Linked DNA regions of Homo sapiens: region 2 is linked to region 1. The links are contacts of gene promoters, found by promoter capture Hi-C in blood cells and fetal thymus (Javierre and others, 2016). All regions are on one chromosome and are shown on one strand. Each heading gives the region's core, a stretch centred on a gene start or on the middle of the fragment in contact. The rest is flanking DNA. Distances are from core to core; before and after follow the strand shown. Region 1 holds the start of HOXD9 (homeobox D9). Region 2 has its middle 190 kb from the start of ATP5MC3.

What was found. The method cuts DNA at HindIII sites, captures the fragments that hold promoters and counts their contacts. A CHiCAGO score of 5 or more calls a contact.
Region 2: a fragment that was not itself captured here is called in contact with the fragment with the promoter of HOXD9 in region 1 in 4 of 17 cell types (monocytes, M0 macrophages, M2 macrophages and 1 more); the score reaches 6.8 in monocytes.

Annotation. Positions count from the first base shown.
Region 1 is chr2:176,121,030-176,124,859 of GRCh38, reverse strand. It overlaps HOXD9 (homeobox D9), which reads right to left and starts at 2,141. Exons shown (of 2, transcript NM_014213.4): 1 at 1,275-2,141; 2 at 1-926. The coding sequence starts at 2,091. The coding sequence ends at 685. The HindIII fragment of the contact is 6,351 bases long and covers 1-3,830 here.
Region 2 is chr2:175,369,093-175,372,953 of GRCh38, reverse strand. No RefSeq gene overlaps it. Among named protein-coding and RNA genes, the nearest start is that of ATP5MC3, 190 kb to the right of the region's middle. The HindIII fragment of the contact is 341 bases long and covers 1,881-2,221 here.

The DNA.
Region 1 (3,830 bases), core at 892-3,391:
CGGGCAGGAACCGGGAGGGCCACCACCCGCGGCCGCCCACGCGAGCCCAGCCTTCAGGGGAGAGAGCAGCGCGTCCAATGCACTGAGGACAAACCCCAACCCGCCCGAGGCCCTGGGCTCCTCTAAGCCTCACTGGAGATCTCCACCGAGGTCCCGCGTGCTCCCTGAGGAAAGGGGGCTTTCGCAACTGGTGGGCAACCCCGCCGGGCTTCACCGTGGGCTAGCAGCCGGGGTGTCCGCACTGTTGTCGCTCTGCCTTCATTCTTGGAATTGGGGCGCACTTGGCCCCTGTTTGGGCAGTGCTGGGGGTGAGGGGACTAAACTACAGCACTTTTCAGAAACATGGGGGACATTTACACAAGAGAGGGCTCCCCAAGCCAGCTTGCACTCACAAAATATAGCATTTCTTAAGGAACCAATGGAGCAGGAAAGAGAGGGAGTGGGATAGGGCGAAACCCCAAAGCCACTTGGTTTTTCCAACACGTAAACGAGCAAATACAGAGTCCCCCAAATACCTCAGAGACCAACCACACAGTCACTTCTATCTAAAAAGAAAAAAAAAAAGAAGAAGAAGTCCAAGTCGCTGGAGAGTTTCTGGAAATCAAGCACCAAACACCCACAAAGGAAAACAGCAACAACAACAAATCCGCTGCCCTTGAGCGCTCCCGCCAGCACCGCGCCGGGTCAGTCTCCTTTGGGGCATTTCTCCTTGCTCATCTTTTTCATTTTCATCCTACGGTTCTGAAACCAGATTTTGACCTGTCTCTCTGTTAGGTTGAGAATCCTGGCCACCTCGTAGCGCCGGTCCCGGGTGAGGTACATGTTGAAGAGGAATTCTTTCTCCAGCTCAAGCGTCTGGTATTTGGTGTAGGGACAGCGCTTTTTCCGGGTGGAGCGAGCGTGGATCCAGTTCGCGGCGGGGTTGTCTACAAAGAGGGAGGTTTGGAGACGGGGAGAGAGGAGAGGAGGGGAGGCAGGGAGAGACCACAGGGTGGGGAAGAGAGGTCGTTAAATTAATTTCACCAAGGATGGTCGCTTTTCACAACTTGTGGGGAATTATCATAAAAAGCCTTAATGCTCGCGCTCTGTTTACCGTACTAACTGAGCGCCCAGGGTAGGTGGTTATGGGAAGCTCTTTTTATGGATGCATGTTGTTCGCCTAGGCTTGGGTAGGCGTCTAGACGTTTTTATAGGTTAGTAAAACTATCAGTTTTGCACATTCGAGCCTTACAGGTTTCAGCAATAAATCAGGGGGCAATTTCTTTTGCACTTACTTGGGTCAAGTTGCTGCTGCTGCGGCTGCGAATGCTGCTTCTCCTCCTCCTTCAGCGAACAGCCTGGGATCGGGTGGTCGCTGCAAGCTGAGGGCTCCGACGAGCCGCCCGTCCCAGTCGCGGCCCCGATCCCTGCCCCAGGCCCGGTTCCCCCCGTCGCCGCTGCCGCCTTCTCCTGCAGGAACGAGTTGCACGAGAACTCGGGGCCGCTGCTCCCCTGGGACTCCCGGGCCACGGAGCACTCAGTCCGTTTGGAGGAGGAGGATAAGGAAGTGGAGGAGGAGGAGGTGGTGGAGGCGGCCGTGGCGGGGGCCGGGGCCGCTCGGGTTTCAGGCTTAATCCCGTAGTGGCGCCCGTTGGCTGGGCCGCTGGGGCCAGGGCTGGGACCGCGGCCCGGACCGCCGCCTCCACCACCACCGCCACCGCCCGCACCGCCCGGGAAGCCGGGCAGCGGCTCCATCCAGGAGCGCACGTAGCGGCCGGGCTCGGAGGCAGAGGCGGCCAGGGGCGGCGGGGGAACGTACGGGTGGTAGAGGCCGCTCATCGCCGCCGCTGCCGGGGGCTGGGAGGGCACCGCGGACCACGAGGCAGAGAACACGGCCGATCTGGGGGCAAAACTACACGAGGCGAACTCGGCGGCGGTGGCGGCCGGGCCATCAGCCACACCTGCAGGCCGGCCCTGCGCGCCTGGCCCCGGCGGCCCGAAGCGCGCCGCGAACACCTCGTCGCCCTCATGGCCTATAAGCGAGTCCACGTAGTAGTTGCTGAGGGTGCCACTGGAAGACATTTTGAGGCGTCCCGCACTCCCACCCAACATTACACTGTCCGCCGCCGAGCAGCTCCCCGCCGGCGCCCGAGCCACCGACTAGTTCGCAGGCTGCAGCCTCCACCATTGGTCGCGCGGCCCACGTGATCATATTTACCAATACCGGGAGTAAATCAGTCCGCTAAACTGGGGGCTGCTGTGATTAAAAAAAAAATCATCAACATAAGCGCCGCAATTAGAGCCCGCAGGCCCAGGTCCATGTGCCCGGCTCGGCCCGGCCCGACCTGGCCTGGCCCGCCCAGCGGCTGCCAGGACCACAGACGCGACCGCATCCAGAGGAGGCGCTGGGGACTATTTGTTCGCTTCTTCTTGCAGCCCTCGGTCCCGCAGTCGGGCCCCGTCGCTGACTCTCCAGCTTCCGAGCCGCGGGCGGCGAGTCCAGGGCACACGGAGCGGCCGCGGGGGCGCCAGGCCGGTGTCGCCCGAGGCAGGCGGGCCCTCGGGGCGGCCCCTAGCGCCCGAGGGGAGCTGTTCTCCCCTCGCCTCTCTCCCTACTCACACCCACCCCTCCCCACACATCCCCACACACACGCTTGCTCACAGCTTGTCGTGTTGTTTAAAACAGGTGGAAGACCTCTGTAATGATATTATGCCTTTCAATAAAAATTTTATGAGGTGTATTTGATTATAGATTAATGTGTCCCTAATAAAACGGACGGATGGAGCAGATCGGAGGGCCCCCTCCCCCTGCCACACTCACACACGCCCGCGCGGCCACACACACCCCGACGTGAGGCTGGGCACACGCCGCGGCCCGAGGGGCGAGCCGGGGCGCGGCGGTGGAGGACACAGAGGGGCTTCTGCCTGCCCTCGGAAGGGCGGGCGGCCGGGCGAGTTGGCGCAGCACGGACAGTGGCGGCCAGGGTGCTTCGTCTTCTCCGATGATGCTGGAAAGGCCCTGGAAGAGAACACGCCACAGGGCAGAACCCAAATGCTAGAGCAGCTTGCTCCCGCCCGCCGCCTCAGCCCTGCCTCAGCGAGTCTCCCCGGGCAGGGCCGCTTCGCGCGGTTCGCACTTAAAGGCCTCGGAGGAGACTCCCAAAATGTCTAAAAAATTCGGCCGAATGGCTAGGTCCTTGGGACACTCCCTTCTGATTTTTTTCCCCCTACAGAGGTGAGGTTGAGCAGCCTTGAATCTGAGGGAAATGCCCATTGTCACTCCCAAATCCATGGTACAAAGCCTCGGAAGCCCGGCTGGGAGCCCAGACAAAAGCGGCCGGGGCGCCGGCAGCGGAGGGCATATTCCTTGCTCTACAAGTTGCCCAGCTCACCCTTGGAGGGCTCCCGGCCCACCTCCAGCCCCGAAAAGGAAGCGGGTAAATGGCTATTTATGGCCTGATTGATTACCTTTGCCAATAGCTTTCTGATTTTGTTCCAGATGGGATGCCTTTGCCTTGTAGCTCAGGCTTTCCTCGGATACATGGCCCGCTATCAACAGCTAATGGTATTCCCCACATGATCGGAGAAACGGCTAAATAAAAATTACCCTCCTCCTGCCCAACCGGTGTTAAGTCTGGGGCAAAGCTATTACAACGTTTTCAATCTAGCATTGATTCCAAGCCCTCTCCCCCACCCCCAGGAAATGGCCCCCTAAAAGAGTTCTGTCTTGGAATGTTCCTGGTTTTGGGGCGGAAGTTTAAAATTTTGAATGCCAGTGTCCCAGAGACTCCCTGGCTGAGGACTTATAGCACCTAAATGGATCGTTCTTAGGGAAACATTTAAAAGGAAGA
Region 2 (3,861 bases), core at 802-3,301, 750 kb after region 1:
GTATGTGACATGGTGCTTTTTATAGAACCAGAGCTCAGAAAGACTCTGTTACTGAATGACTTAAGGCCTGCAGCACATGGCTCAGTGCCCATTAGGATCATAAATTACTTGAGTAATGCTAATTATTTTTTGCCTTCAGTGCTCATGATCAATATATTTGTGTGTGTGGTTTTTTTTACTTTAAATGTATTTCTTTGCATATATTAAATTTCTCAAGAGTGAGCACAGGACCAAGGGCAGAGACCAAGCATGTCACATTTTTCATTGTTTCCTCTGCACCTGCCCTGGTGAGGAGCACACAGTAGGCACTCAATATCAATTTGTTAAATAAGCAATTGGATCATTGAAAACATCTGCCTTTACTAAGGCAGGTTTAATATACTTGCAAGTATATTCCATAGCATTGCTTTGAAAACTTTTTTCTCTGAAAAACCAATGAGTTGCAGAGAAATTACTGGGGGTTCTTCTAACATAAATGAGTTCATAGGGACATGGTTAATTCCTGCCTGCTCCATAGCTATCAGATTTGCATTCCAGGAAGAAGACCCATGTAAAAGAGCTCTCCAGCTTCAGAACGCTTCAAAAGCCTAATTGCATTAAGTCAATAATACTCTGTTGAGTAATAATTTGCTACCTGACATTAAATGATGAAATGTTATAATAAAATACTAGTATGCTAAATTAAGTGCCAACTAAACAACAGTTCACAAAACCCAGATTCACCACAAGTTAAATTCTAAACCTTCTTCTTTTGATGAGCATTTTCTTCATTTTTCAGCACTGCCATTGCAGACCAGTGACTCCTGGACAACTCACTCCCAGTCTTTGCACCCACTCACTTTCCTTTGCACCCCCTTTCCCCACAGCTTAAATCTTCTCATCAGGGACACAAGCTAACTCTCATGCATGCCCTATGGAAAGCAAGCTCCTATGGGAAGGAAAAAAACAAATGTCACCAGACTCCCGAAGCATGTGACCCTGGATCCAACAGAAGACATTTCAATTTTCAGACCACTCTCTTCCATTCACCCACAGGTCTGTGGGCCACAGTCTGAACTAGCCACTTTCCTGTCTGGCTGTCAGTCTTTACTTCTCTTCCTTAAGTGAAAGAGCAAGAAAATAAAGAAAAAAGAAAAGTATCTGAAATTTTAAGGACACAGATAACAAGGAAGGGGAGTATTAAATAGTTTTGAAGTGTTTTATATCTCAGTTTTTTCTTCTTCCTTTTTTTTCTCCACCACCCTACCCCCAGCCCCACCAGGAGTGATTCTGAAGTTCTACTTTGCTTGCCAGCTCTGCACTGAGCTCTCACTTCCCAGCACTCATCAGGGATGATTACAAGCCACATTCCCTCAATAAAAGCAAATAAGGAAACAGCTTTCCTTTACCATACTGACCACATATGTGTGTAGTGAAAGTGGGAAGGAGAGACCATAATATATGTCCTAGCAACACAAAAGCACACCCTCCACTTTGCATACATATTTACCCAATTTCATCTAGAGGTCCCATGTGCTTCAATTGCTCATTTATTCTTCAACCTTAGATAAGGAGATGAGGGAGGGGGAGGGACAGACAGACCTATAGATGACAGATCTGTAGCCAATGTTGTTAGCATGCCAGATCTTATTACAGGACCATGGGAGGTCATGCACGCCACATCCAGACTCCATGGGGACCACCACATTTAAAACAAGATGAAAAAAATGTGATGTAGGGGAAAAAACCCTCATGGGCAGCCTTCAAAGGCAGAGACAGGTTGTGACTGGATTAACATTTATTGACTGTTTAAGCCTGCTTTTTTGCTTCAGGACAGAGATACATGAGTTTAATTGCAGAGGCTGTTCTGCCAACTGATCACCAGAGTGGCAACCAAAGCTTAACTAATCGGTCCTTCATTAGTGAAAAGTCTCTATTACAAAACAAATTAAGCATGCTCTGATCCTAACCTACAGGTCCAATGGCATTACGGCAAAGTTTAAGCTGTTAGAGCTGTGAAAAACTTATTAAGGGTTAGCGCTGAGATAGCACTTGGCTATTGATTTTACAATACACAGGTATTATGATTTATGGAGTGCTGGTGTCACTCTAACAAGCTGAAGGACACACAATATCATCTCCAGCATCATTAAAATTCAGAAGCCTCCAGAACTAACTCATCAACCATTGTGCATTGTCACAGACTACGGAGCCAGGCCCCAGCTTCAAAACGTCCGAAGCTTTGAGACAGTCACCTCCCTGCTTGCTTGGCAATCAGAAGTATAGACCGGCCCCTCAAAATGCTTTCAGTGCCTTCAATTAATAATCAGAGGCTATTTTCACCCTGAGTTGTCAAATATTTTGTTATTTAATTTTGCCTTTTAACATCCAGAAGTATTTTGTGCATATCTACTACACATCTGTTTAAAAAAGAAAGACTATACACCAAGGCAGTATATAATTCAGGCAAGGATCTAACTAAACCATGCCAAAAAAAAAAAAAAAAAGATTTTTTTTTTACACATAAAAAGCTGGCAGAAGTAGCTGTGGTAATCCATCAATAGATATTCAATGAGCACCAATTAGGTTCAAGTCATAGTAATAAGAGTTAATCATTATTAAGCATTTACTATATTCCAGAATTGTTCTGTCCTTTTATTTTATTAATACAGTTAATCCTCACAAAAACCTTTGAAATGAAAAGTAGTTTTTTATCTCCTTCTTACTGATAAAAATACAGAGACACAGAGAAGTTAAGTGTATAGCTGCCAGGCAGAATAGCCAATATTTCAAAGTGAGGCAGTTTGACTTCCAGGTGTTGTCTTGGGCCAATTCCTAAATGTAACAATCATTTCTATTAACAAAAGCTGCATCTTTTCAACTAACTTCAATATCGGTCAGTCTGCAATTTGAGGATGTTTCCAGTTAAATCGAATTTTAAAAATTGACCATTAGTTTTGTTGAAAAACTTTCCCATACAGTGTTATTGAAACACCCTTCAGTTATTTTCTGAGTTACGTAATCACAATGAGTATATTCTTTCAGAGCACCCATTTTCTGTGCCTTTAATCATTTTTGATACTTTCATTTATTTGTATCTTTCTACTTTGCATAAAATGATAGATAAATCAAAGACATAGTACTTTTTTCTTTTTTTCTTTTAACATCATTTCCCACTCCCAAACTCAAACTAAGCCCTATACTGAATTTTTTACAAGCATCTGTGGTATTTACAATCAATGTTGTCATAAACAAATTAAATTACAAACTTCTAACTTAGCTTTATGTATGTATTTTTCCATGACAATGTTTACCAAAGAGTGGAAATAGGCAAGTGATGTGTCTATATTGTATCTGAAGCTAAAGAATTTGGGGACTGGTGTAGCTGAAGAGTCTTCTTTCAAACCTCTCTCACCCGTAGGTTCTGGGGCCACAGAATATGGCCCTTGGAACAGTGTTATAATTTTATTATTGATTCGTGTTCAACTTTATAACGTCAGATAATTTCCTGTTTCATGTGCATAGTGAATCATTTTCTAAATTTCATTTGAGATTTCTTTTCCCATGCACTTCACACACATTATATCCCTATTAAAGATTGTTCCAATTCTTACTAGCCATTTTTACAACTTGAAAGGTTATTAGATTTCAAATTCTGCTTGTCATTTCCTCCCACTGTCCTGGTGTCTTTCATCATCTAAGTGCCCAAGAATATCATAGATGTTACAGATGGATAGCTGGCATCTATTTGCCTAGCCAATACTGAGTTAGGAAAATCTTCTCCTTTGTTATCTATCCACCCAAGCAGCTTTCCTCTGCTTCTCAATGTAACTTGCCAGTACCAAGGGGTCTCCATGGTTCTGATTATCTTTGGATCATGCT